3 separate regions of the Homo sapiens genome follow, and all the other regions are linked to region 1. Evidence: promoter capture Hi-C in 16 types of primary human blood cells and fetal thymus (Javierre and others, 2016). All regions are on one chromosome and are shown on one strand. The core of a region is centred on a gene start or on the middle of the fragment in contact, and the rest is flanking DNA. Distances in the headings are between cores, read along the strand shown. Region 1 has its middle 18 kb from the start of ZNF267. Region 2 holds the start of PYCARD (PYD and CARD domain containing). Region 3 holds the start of HSD3B7 (hydroxy-delta-5-steroid dehydrogenase, 3 beta- and steroid delta-isomerase 7).

Region 1 (4,100 bases), core at 272-2,771:
GTCTTCAGTGACAATTCTCCCTGTCATCTTAAACCCAGCTGCCATCACTATGACGTTGGTGCTCAATCCAGTCAGTGTCCTTAGGTCTTGATTTATTTTCCTTCTCTGAAGCTTTTCAATTACTTCTTTATAAATTATTTTGTCTGATGCTCACAGAAAAAGCCTGCCTAATAAGAACCCTATACCCACAAAAACTAGCTATTAAAAATGAAGGTTAAATAAAAACATTTTATGTAAATAAAAACTGATACAATTTGTTGCTAGCCAACTGACCTTATGAAAAAATGGCAAAAGAAGTTTTTCAGGCTGAAAGCAAGTAAATCCAGACAATAATTTGAATGCATAAGAAAGACAAAGCACACACTAGCAAAACTAATTACATAATTATAAGACAGTGTAAGTGAATTTATTTATTTATTTATTTATTTGCACATGAATAAATTCTTTAGTGGCGATTTCTGAGATTTTGGTGCACCCATCTCCCAGGGGCCTAATAACAGCTCCAGAAGGCCTGCCATCACTGGTGCCCTAGCATGAGCTCCAGAGGTCTGGGACTTCCCCTGCCCTGCCCACAGCCTATGCTCATGTGCATCACTAGGAGGACTTGAGAACAGGCCCACCTCACCTGCCTCTCTCCCACCCTTAGTGGTCAAATATTCCACTTGTGGACCTGAGGACAGCATTGTACAGGTGGTAGCCTCTGGCATGAGTCCACCAGGGTCCTAAAAACAGGCCAAGAAAATGTGCAGCCAGCACTCAAGCATGCTGTCTAAAGGTCTAGGAATCTCCCATGCCATCCACCACTGCTGTCATCTGGGTACTCTTGGGGTCCTAAGGATGGGCCCACCCAGACAACCACCAGCATCCACACTCATGTGTCACCTAAGGCTCTAGGGACTGTCTGATTCAGCCCATTGCAGCCACCACAAACACTGTGAGTGCTGCCTGGAAGCCTGAAGTTGCCTCAACCCCACTACTCTCCTCATCCACACGGTACACACTGCTCAGAGGCCTGAGGACTTGCCCCATTTCCTAGCCCACTGCTGTTACTACAGACATCAGAGCAAGCCTCCTGAAGGCCTGAGAATCAACAGGCTTAGGCACACTAACACCAGTGCCCACATACACTACCCAGCAGCCCAAGGACAGACACCCTCAACCCTTTACTGCTGCCACTGTCACCATGGGGGCTGAAGGACTGGCCTATCTGGTGTTCCATTCCTACCAAAACCTCACCACAGCCTCAACTAGCAAACACAGCCTAAGCAAGGTTATACCTCATAATGAAGGAGAAATAAAGACGTTCCCAGACAAGCAAAAACTGAAGAAATTCATCACCACTAGACAAGCCCTGGAAGATTACCTAGACAGAAAATCAATAATGAAACATCAGATTTAAACTGTACTTTAGACCAGGGGTCCCCAACCGTCGGGTCACAGACCAATACCCACCCCTGGCTTGTTAGGAACCAGGAAGCTCAGCAGGAGGTGAGTGGCAGGTGAGCCAGTGAAGCTGAGCTCTACCTCCTGTCAGATCAGCAGCAGCATTAGATTGTCATAGGAGCTCAAACCCTATTGTGAACTGCACATGCCAGTGATCCAGGCTGTATGCTCCTTATGAGAATCTAATGATAAATGTAATGCACTTAAATTATCCTGAAATCATCCCCCTCCCCTAGTCCTAGGAAAAATTGTCTTCCACGAAACCAGTTCCTGGTGCCAAAAAGGTTAGGCACCGTTGCTTTAGACCAAAGGAACCTAACAGACATCTGCAGAACACTTGATCCAATGACTGCAAAACATACATTCTTCTCAGAAGCACATGGAACAGTCTTCAGGATAGACCCTCTGTTAGGCCAGAAAACGAGTCTTAACAAATGTTTAAAAATTGAAATCATATCAAGTATTTTCTCATACTACAGTGAAATAAAGCCAAAAATCAGTAGCAAAAGGAACTTTGAAAACTGTACAAATACATGAAAATTAAATGACATGCTCCAGAACAACCATTGGGTTAATACAGAAATCCAAACAAATATTTAAAAAATGAAGATGAAAACACAATATTTTGGAAACTATGAAATGCAGCAAAAGCAGTGTTGAGGGAAGTTTACAGCAGTAAATACCTACATCAAAAAAGTAGAAATATTTACAGTAAACAACCTAATGATACACCTCAAGAAACCAAAAAAGCAAGAACAAACTAAGCTCAACATAAGCATAAGGAATAATAAAAATCAGTCAAGGTGCAGTGGCTCATGCCTGTAGTCCAGCACTTTGGGAGACTGAGACAGCTGGATCACCTGAGGTCACGAGTTTGAGACCAGCCTGGCCAACGTGGTGAAACCTCTTCTCTACTAAAAAATACAAAAATTAGCCAGGTGTGGTGGAGTACACCTGTAATCCCAACTACTCAGGGGGCTGAGGCAGGAGAATTGCTTGAACCCAGGAGGCAGAGGCTGCAGTGAGCCGAGATGGCACCACTGCAGTCCAACCTGGGCAACAGAGTAAGACTCCGTCTTAAAACAAAACAAAACAAACAAACAAACAAAGAAATAATAAAAATCGGAGAAGTAAGCAAACTAGAAACTTAAAAAAATACAAAGGGCCAATGAAATAAAACTTTTTTTGAAAACATGAAACAACATTCATAAACCACTAGCTAGACAAAAAATAGAGAAAAGACCCAAATAAACAATGTCAGAAATGAAAAAGCAGACATTTCAACTGATACTGCAGAAAGAAGTATGAAAGATAATCAGAGACTCCTAAGAACAATTGCATGATAACAAACTGGAAAAATTAGAGAAAATATCTAAATTCCTGGACACATACAAACTATCACTATTGAATCAGGGAGAAATAGAAGACCCAAACAAACCAATAATGAGAAATGAGATTGATACAGTAATAAAATGTCTCTCTGCAAATAAAAGCTTGGGGCTTGATAACTTGACAGCTGAATTCTACCAAACTTATAAAGAAGAACTAATATCAATTTTTCTCAAAGTATTCAAAAAATAGAAGGGGGGGGAATTCTTTGTAACTCATTCTATGAAGCAAGCATTACCCTGATATGAAAACAATACAAGGATACAATGAAAACAGAAAGCTACAGTTTAATATGATGAATAAAGATGTTAAAATCTTCAACAAAATACTAGCAAACTGAATGCAACAGCACATCAAAAAGATAACATGCCACAATCAAGTAGGATTTATCCCAGGGATGGAAGGATGGATTTCCACACACAAACCCATAAACACAATACATCACATTAACAGAATGAAATACAAAAACCATACAATCATCTCAATAGATGCAGAAAGAGCATTTGACAAAATTTAACATCTTTTCATGATAGAAACGCTCAACAAACTAGGCCTACAGGAACATACCTCAACTTAATAAAGGCCATATATGACAAATCCACAGGTAACATTATACTAAATAAGGAAAAGCTTAAATCTTTTCTGCTAGGGACTAGAACTAAACAACGATGTTCATTTTCACTATTTCTATTCAACAAAGTACTGGAAGTCCTAGCCGAAGTAATCAGGCAAGAGAAAGAAATAAAAGGCATCTAAATAGGAAAAGTGAAAGTTTAATTGTTGCTTTGTGCAAATGACATGATCTTATATTTAGAAGAACATAAAGATGCCACCAAAAAACTATTAGATTTGATAAATATGATCAGCAAAGTTGCAGGACACAAAATCAACATACAGAAATCAGGAGCATTTCTACATAATAAGTAAGTGGCTGAAACAGAAGTCAAGGAAGCCATCTCATTTACAATAGCTACAAAATATTAAAATACCTAGTAATAAATTTAGCTGTGGTGGTGAAAGACTTCTACAAGGAGAACTAAAAAACACTGATGTAAGATACTGAAGAGTACATAAAAAAATGAAAGGACATTGCATGCCCATAGATTCCATGCCCATAATTTTTTTGTCTAGCTAGTGGTTTAGCCCATAGATCAGAAGAATTAATATTGTTAAAATGACCAAAGCAGTCTACAGATTCAATGCAATCACTATCAAAATGCCAACTTTTTCACACACAAAAGAAGTCTAAAATGTGTATGGAACCAACA
Region 2 (3,798 bases), core at 701-3,200, 650 kb before region 1:
TCTCAAAAAAAAAGTTTTAAATGTTCCTTTCAAATGAATGAATAAGTAATAACCCTCCAAAAAAATCGCATCAAGAAAAGAGGCAGCTACCACACACAACTCATTTCCTGAAAATCTGCTTTGGTGGTTGGCATGTTTTTTGAGCAAAGTGCAACCTATGACCCTTTCCCCCACGGGATGGGGTGGGGCAGAGGGAGCCTTTAAGCCTGTTAAGAGCCAGCACCAGAAGGAGCCCTCGAGCAATTTGGTGACTTGTGCTCTTCTGTCCTATGTTTAGATAATGCTCTAATGTGTCTCCCCCTGCAAATTTCTCTAATTCTGCATTTTTCTCCAGTGGAAAATGTGGAAGGTAGGGGAGCTATGAAGACTAGTGTGTTTCTAAATGGCTTGGACAGAGCTGCCCACCAGTTTGCGCCCTTTGGTACATGCCTCTTTTAACCTTCGGACCTGGGTCACAGGCTGTTATCTATAATGGTAAGGTTAGACCCTTTAGGGAGCACTGGAGGAGCACCACCTGGTGAATGAGGAGGGATATTCCATGGCGATACCAGGAAGGATGGGGGAAGCATTTGGGGTGCCAGAGACCCTAGGGACATGGAGCTGGAGGCTGGGTGGCCTCTGAAGCATAGCTGAGCTCTGCACATGCCAGCAGGCTAGAAGCAGGAAAACACACAAGTTCAAGCTGGCTTTTCGTATATTGTGTATAAAAAGATCAGATTCAGGATGATTTGGTGGGATTGCCAGGGGCTGACCGGAGTGTTGCTGGGAAGGAGCCTCAGCTCCGCTCCAGGTCCTCCACCAGGTAGGACTGGGACTCCCTTAGGGCCTGGAGGAGCAAGTCCTTGCAGGTCCAGTTCCAGGCTGGTGTGAAACTGAAGAGCTTCCGCATCTTGCTTGGGTTGGTGGGCTCGGCCCGCACTGCCTGGTACTGCTCATCCGTCAGGACCTTCCCGTACAGAGCATCCAGCAGCCACTCAACGTTTGTGACCCTCGCGATAAGCGCAGCCCGGTGCTGGTCTATAAAGTGCAGGCCTGGGGGTGGGAGGAGAACATGAGCCAGCAGCCAGGGTGTGGGGCCTGTCCCTGCTGAACTTGAGTTCTTCAGGAATTCCTCTGCAAGCCTAGGGGCAGGGCTCCAGGGGGCGGCCACCAGGACCCCACATGCAGTGGGATGAGGGTAATATTGTCTCCCTTCCCCCGCAGGGTGTGGGTTGGTGGGTGGGGTGCGCAGGGTTGCCAAGCCGTGCCTGCCCTGCCCTGCCCTGCCCTGGTTGCGGGAGCACAGATGCAGGCTGTGCAGGAGTGCGGTGGGGCCGGGCTGGGTGTGGAGGCCTCACCTGGCTTGGCTGCCGACTGAGGAGGGGCCTGGATCCCAGCTGGCGCGGCTCCAGAGCCTGGAAGGATATGGGCCAAGTGATCCCCTTCCCTTCCCTTCCCGCCGTGGGGCCGGGGTCCCGTTGGTCGGTAGGCCAAGCGTGGGGAGCCTCCTTTCCGGTAGAGCAGCTTTGTTTAGGGGTAGGAGGAACAGAAAGCGGAAGAGCCCGCGGGGTAAGCGCTGGTGTGGGTGGAGGGGAAAGACGGGGTGGAGGGGAACGGGGGCGGCTCACCCTGGTGCGTGGCCGCCTGCAGCTGCCCGGCCATCTCCTGCAGGCCCATGTCGCGCAGCACGTTAGCGGTGAGCTCGGCGCCGTAGGTCTCCAGGTAGAAGCTGACCAGCTTGTCGGTGAGGTCCAAGGCGTCCATGGACAGCAGCGCGCCCCGCGGGATGCGCCCGTAGCCCTCGCGCAGCGGCACCGACAGCAGCTTCAGCTTGAACTTCTTGAGCTCCTCGGCGGTCAGGTTCTCCAGCGCATCCAGGATGGCGTCGCGCGCGCGCCCCATGGCTCCAGGATCCCCGGCCGCTGCCGCCGCTCACCCCGCTGCAGCCGCCGACCAGGAGGAAGTCGGCTCCGGGGCGGAACCTGGACTCCCCGCCTTCCTCCCACTCTGGTCTCCCGACTCCCCGCCCCGGTCCGTTGCCCTCCAGCAAAAGGCGCTTCCTTACTACACCCTTGGTCCCCTCCCACCCAGGCCTCTGGATTGGGGCCCCAGGCCGTCGGGGGACGCCAGGATCGCGCCCTCCAGCTGGCCTGCGAGGTGGGACCCGGGAGGGGGCCGCAGAGGGGCTCATGGGTGGCGCCTGCTTGTCTCTGGGCTTGCACCAGCGGGTACAGACCGGAAACCTGGGCTGGCTCTCACTGGGTTTATTGGAGCACCTAGGCTTAGAACCTCGGATTTCTAGAACCCCGAAACCTCCGCGGTTCCCCGAACCTTAGGATCCTCTCCCACATGTCGTAGAATCTTGGAATCATGACAGCTAGAAGCGTGAAGCTCCCTCAATTCCACATACTGGGGAAAAATGAGTTGTACAAAAGGGCAGAGAGTGCAAATCTCTCTGAGCTTCAGTTTCATTTTCTACGACATGGGGATAACCCTCCGGTGCTTATAAATATTCCAGCATAACATGGCCAACCCGATGGCTCCCGAAACCTTGCCAGATGCTTCCTAGGGGAGCCAGAATTTGATCCCAACACTGATTAAAAAAAAGAAAAAAGAAAGAGAGACAGCCTCCAGGAGATTAAAGACCATGAACTTGAAGCCATACAGTTCTTTGTTTGAATCCTGACTCTACTTCCCAAGGGGGATATTTGGAATCCTTTATTTTTCCCTCTCATCTGGGTTGTAACAATCACTGTTCCTTGTAGTCATACGACCCTGACATATTATACGTTTATATGCTTATTGGACATTCATCCCTCTCTAAAATGTGAGGCCTATGAGCATCGGAGACCTTAACTGTCTTATTCTTTGCTGAATTCCTAGCGTCAAGAATGTACCTGGAAATAGCTGTGTGTGGTGGAGGGCGCCTGTAATCCTAGCTACTAGGGCGGCTGAGGCATGAGAATCGCTTGAACCTCGGAGGCAGAGGCTACAGTGAGCCAAGATTGCACCACTGCACTCCAGCCTGGGTGACAGAGCTAGATTCCATCTGAAAAAAAAAAATGTATCTGGAACACATTAGGTGCTGAGTAAAGATTTGCTGAGTGAAGGAATGAATGAGGCTGTGATGCCTGCAGCATGTTGTATTCAAAAGCTTCCAGCATGGCTGGGTGCAGTGGCTCATCACGCATGTCATCTCAGTGCTTTGGGAGGCTGAGGCCGGAGGGTCACTTGAGCCCAGGAGGTTGAGGGTGCAGTGAGCTATGATTGTGCCACTGCACTCTGTGCCACTCGGCAACAGACACCTTGTCTCAAAAACAAACAAGACAACCAGGATGGGCCGGGCACGGTGACTCATGCCTGTAATCCCAGCATTTTGGGAGGGCGAGGTGGGTGATCAGGAGTTTGAGACCAGCCTGGCCAACAGAGTGAAACCCCATCTCTACTAAAAATACAAAAATTAGCCGGGCGTGGTGGCAGGTGCCTGTAATCCCAGCTACTGGGGAGGCTGAGGCAGGAGAATCGCCTGAACCCGTGAGGTGGAGGTTGCAGTGAGCTGAGATCACACCATTGCACTTCAGCCTGGGCAACAAGAGCGAAACTCCATCTCAAAACAGGAACAAAAACAAACAAACAAAAACCACGATGGGGAGCAGTGCTCTGCTACCCTGCTGAAAGCCTTTTTGTTGTTGTTGTTGTTGTTGTTTGTTTTTTCTTTTGAAGACAGGACCTCACTCTGTTGCCCAGGCTGGAGTACACCGGAGGGATTGTGGCTCACTGCAGCCTTGAACTCCTGGGCTCAAGCAATTCTCTCACCTC
Region 3 (4,005 bases), core at 1,506-4,005, 870 kb before region 1:
GATCGCGCCATTGCACTCCAGCCTGGGCGACAGAGCAAGACTCCGTCTCAAAAAAAAAAAAAAGAAAAGAAAAAACAGGGTCAGTGGCAGCGACGTGTGGCTGGAGGGAACAGAGAGCCCAGACCGCACGGGCTTGGGAGCCTGTGAATCCACTTGGGCCTGTGGTGAGAGAGGAGGAAAGTCCCGGAGCTTTCTTCAGGAGAGGGTCCTTCCGCAGGAGAGGGTCCTTCCGCAGGAGAGGGCCCCATGGCTAGTGAGCTCCATGTCTAGGCTGACACCAGTATCCAGGCAAAGGCAAGGGTGGCCCGACCCAAGCAGTGGCAGCAGAGGTGACAGAGAGGAGGCTTTGGGTGCAAGGTGGTTGGCTGGGCTCAGCAGTGAGAGGGTGAGGGGGACGGGAGGCCCTCTCTCGGTGCTGCTCTTAGCTGCTGGGAGTATGATGGGAGGGCCAGTGAGATGGGTGTGAGGAGGAAGAACAAATATATGGTCAAGATGAGCTCCAGTCTGGACATGTGGGGTTGCAATGCCCCAGGGACATCTAGGGGATGACGCCCAGCAGCTCCACTGAGGTGGCTTTTGGCTGGAAATGGAAGTTTGGGAGGAGTCCCCACCACATAGCTGGCGGCTGAGGCTCTGGAAGGGAGTGAGGTCACCCGAGGAGGGCGTGCAGAGGCTCCTCACTGTCTTCTGGGAAGTAAGGGTTGCTCCTCACACGGAGGTGCGGGGCCTGACATGGGCGGCCTGCCATTTGCATTAGCCGGTGGCAGCCAACAGGTGCCTGTTTTGGAGAGAGGTCCAGGGAGGAGAGATGAGCAGGGTGCCGTTGGTGACATGGCCAGTCATTTCAGGAGCTGCCCCAACCCCAGACTTGCCCCAGCAGTCCGGGACCCCACTGTGACCAGGCAGATGCTCGAAGGAGTCAGTGGCTCTCTTACCCAGTGCAGATTTCCCTGGAGTTCCCTGCGGGTGACTTAGAATGGCCACCAGAGGCTTAGGATGCTGCCCCAAAGAGGGAGGGCTCCTGGAAGCAGAGTCGAGAGAGTCAGTGCCGGGTTAGCGGGAGCTGGAGGCAGAGCTGCAGCTCCAGGCCTGGTGGGCGTGGACCTGGGGTGCTGGCTGGCAGGCGTGCTCAGGGGCAGGAAGTGGGGGACTCTTCCCTGACCATCGCATCTCACCCTGGCAGATGGTGGCCGACATGCGGGAGAAGCGCTACGTGCAGGAGGGCATTGGCAGCAGCTACCTGTTCCGGGTGGACCACGACACCATCATCGATGCCACCAAGTGTGGCAACCTGGCCAGATTCATCAACCACTGCTGCACGGTGCGCCAGGGGCCAGCCGGGGCAGGAGTTGGGGGTCGGTGGGGGTGGCCACGGCTCACACGCCCTTCCATCCGCAGCCTAACTGCTACGCCAAGGTCATCACCATCGAGTCCCAGAAGAAGATCGTGATCTACTCCAAGCAGCCCATTGGCGTGGACGAGGAGATCACCTACGACTACAAGTTCCCACTGGAAGACAACAAGATCCCGTGTCTGTGTGGCACAGAGAGCTGCCGGGGCTCCCTAAACTGAGGTGGGGCAGGATGGGTGCCCACACCCCTATTTATTCCCCCTGGTGCCCTGAGCTCCCAGCACCCCCCCAGCCTTAGTGGGCTCAGCAGGGCCCACATGCCCCCATCTCCAAGCGTGGGGTTGGGGGCCCCAAGCCCAGCGAGGGAGCCTCAGTCCCTGGAGGCAGCTTCTGCCTCTCCTGTCACCCCTGCCCACCACCCCCTGATTGTTTTTCTTTGCGGAGAAGAAGCTGTAAATGTTTTGTAGCAGCCAGCAGCTGTTTCCTGTGGAAACCTGGGGTGCCGGCCTGTACAGATTCTGTCCTGGGGGGCTACACAGTCCTCTTGCTTTGTGTTAATGGGGACTTCCCCTTACGCCCTGCGTGTACCCCTCCCCAGTTTAGGGGTCTCTGGGGCAGTGGCCATGTTCTCCCCCTGGGGGGGCTCTGCACCCCCAGTCCTGGGGACTCCGTGCCTGGAACCCTGCCTCATCTGTTCCTGCCAGACCCTGAGGGTCACCCTTCCACCCTGGTGTCACTCCCCGGCTCAGCCAGGCCAGGATGGCGGGGTGGGTCCCTTTTGCTGGGCTGGACTGTACATATGTTAATAGCGCAAACCCGACGCCACATTTTTATAATTGTGATTAAACTTTATTGTACAAAAGTGTTTGGTCGGTGTATTTGGGCAGGAGCGAGGGGTTGGGGGTAGAGGGCACGGAGGGTTGTGCAAGTTGAAGAGAGGGAAAAGTGGGTACCTGAAGTGTGGGGCAGGTAAAGGGGCCTTCAGGCAAGAGCCCAGACCTGCAGAGACAGTCCGAGACTGTCTCGGACCCCCTGACAGGCTGCAGCAGCCGCACCCGCACCAGGAATACCCCACCAGTGCCCGCCAGGGTGGTGCCAAGGTCAGGCCTCCCCTTCCTACAATCACAGCTGCAGCTGGACCTCCGGCCTCCTGGGAAGCCCAGCAGGAGGGAAGGCCTGAGGTCACACTGTGGGATGAGGTCACCGCTGGCTCCACCCACAGCCCCAGACCCCTTCAGCCCACTCTGCAAGTTCGAGCTTCATCCCCACCAAGTTCTCCGCTGGACCCAGATGCCAGTGGAGCACAGAGCGGCCGCCAGGGGGCGCCTTGGGGCAAGAGTGGTGGGGGTTGTGGCTGGGCGGGTCTCTGTTCCTGGAATGGGGCAGGAGGGAGAAGGAGGAGCCAGCGGAAGGACGGTGTGCGGGCCGGCCAGCCCTGGACGAAAGAAGAGGGCCCCTCCAGGCCAGTCTGGGCACCCTGGGATAGCGGCTGCAGGTAGGCAGAGGCGCTGCCAGTGCCCAGGTGGCCTTTCCCTCCATCCGGCCCTTCCCACCTTCCTATAACCTTCCCTCCACCTCCCTCAACTCCTGGCCTCCCCACCCTTTTACTGCCTTCAAATCTCTCTCCCTAAACCCTGACCCCTTCCTGCACCCCAAGCCCGCCCCTCTCTCCGTAACTCAGCCATCAGCAGGGGCAGACGGCAGGTGGCCTGGTTGCTGCAGCTCCCAGGATCAGCTCTGCCCTCCCCGCAAACGCCAGCCTCGTCACCGCTCCAGGGCACCTCCAGCAGTAACAGGTGGTTGCAGCAGGTGGCAGCCAGCCCCTGGATGAGCCAAGGTCTCTTCCCCAGCCAGGCATGGCCGACTCTGCACAGGCCCAGAAGCTGGTGTACCTGGTCACAGGGGGCTGTGGCTTCCTGGGAGAGCACGTGGTGCGAATGCTGCTGCAGCGGGAGCCCCGGCTCGGGGAGCTGCGGGTCTTTGACCAACACCTGGGTCCCTGGCTGGAGGAGCTGAAGACAGGTTCTTGTTGGGGGAGCTTGTGGTGGAGAGGGTGTGGACGCTTCCCCAACCCTTCCCAAGCTGGGATCCCCACCCCTGCAGTGGAACAGATGATGCTGGTTTCTGTCCACATGGATGGGTCGAGTGAGTCACATTGGGAACGTGACTCCAGGGTGGAAGATGAACCCAGCCTCTGGCCTCTGGCCCCAGCTCTGACATGGCCTGTGTCCTCCAACCCCGGCCAGGGCCTGTGAGGGTGACTGCCATCCAGGGGGACGTGACCCAGGCCCATGAGGTGGCAGCAGCTGTGGCCGGAGCCCATGTGGTCATCCACACGGCTGGGCTGGTAGACGTGTTTGGCAGGGCCAGTCCCAAGACCATCCATGAGGTCAACGTGCAGGGTGAGGAGCTCTGGACACTCCTGGCCATCTTGCCTGTTTGTTCCCCACTCTGTCTTTGGCCTTGACCTCCGGTGACTCCCCTGGGACAAGTTGTCCTATTGACAGCCCTGCCCCCGCCTCCCCTGACCTGTCATGGTTTTCCCTGGACCTGGGATGGGGAGGAGGAAGATGCAGAGAGGGAAGAAGCTGCAGCTTGGATACGCCTCCTCCTCTGCCAGGTACCCGGAACGTGATCGAGGCTTGTGTGCAGAC

What was found. The method cuts DNA at HindIII sites, captures the fragments that hold promoters and counts their contacts. A CHiCAGO score of 5 or more calls a contact.
Region 2: the fragment with the promoter of PYCARD here is called in contact with a fragment that was not itself captured in region 1 in 2 of 17 cell types (endothelial precursors and activated CD4 T cells); the score reaches 6.1 in endothelial precursors.
Region 3: a contact is called between the fragment with the promoter of HSD3B7 here and a fragment that was not itself captured in region 1, in 2 of 17 cell types (fetal thymus and naive B cells). The highest score is 8.8, in fetal thymus.

What each region holds. Positions count from the first base shown.
Region 1 is chr16:31,854,089-31,858,188 of GRCh38, forward strand. No RefSeq gene overlaps it. Among named protein-coding and RNA genes, the nearest start is that of ZNF267, 18 kb to the right of the region's middle. The HindIII fragment of the contact is 2,825 bases long and covers 110-2,934 here.
Region 2 is chr16:31,200,810-31,204,607 of GRCh38, forward strand. It overlaps PYCARD (PYD and CARD domain containing), which reads right to left and starts at 1,951. Exons shown (of 3, transcript NM_013258.5): 1 at 1,608-1,951; 2 at 1,338-1,394; 3 at 677-1,032. The coding sequence starts at 1,881. The coding sequence ends at 776. PYCARD-AS1 (PYCARD antisense RNA 1) reads left to right here and starts at 1,076. Exons shown (of 2, transcript NR_102400.1): 1 at 1,076-1,177; 2 at 1,651-2,643. RefSeq lists enhancers at 782-1,412, 1,602-1,831 and a silencer at 1,942-2,301. The HindIII fragment of the contact is 5,508 bases long and covers 1-3,131 here.
Region 3 is chr16:30,982,452-30,986,456 of GRCh38, forward strand. HSD3B7 (hydroxy-delta-5-steroid dehydrogenase, 3 beta- and steroid delta-isomerase 7) reads left to right here and starts at 2,756. Exons shown (of 7, transcript NM_025193.4): 1 at 2,756-2,846; 2 at 3,202-3,373; 3 at 3,598-3,753; 4 at 3,972-4,005. The coding sequence starts at 3,208. SETD1A (SET domain containing 1A, histone lysine methyltransferase) reads left to right here. Exons shown (of 19, transcript NM_014712.3): 18 at 1,184-1,321; 19 at 1,399-2,213. The coding sequence ends at 1,572. RefSeq lists an enhancer at 2,225-2,737. The HindIII fragment of the contact is 29,451 bases long and covers 1-4,005 here.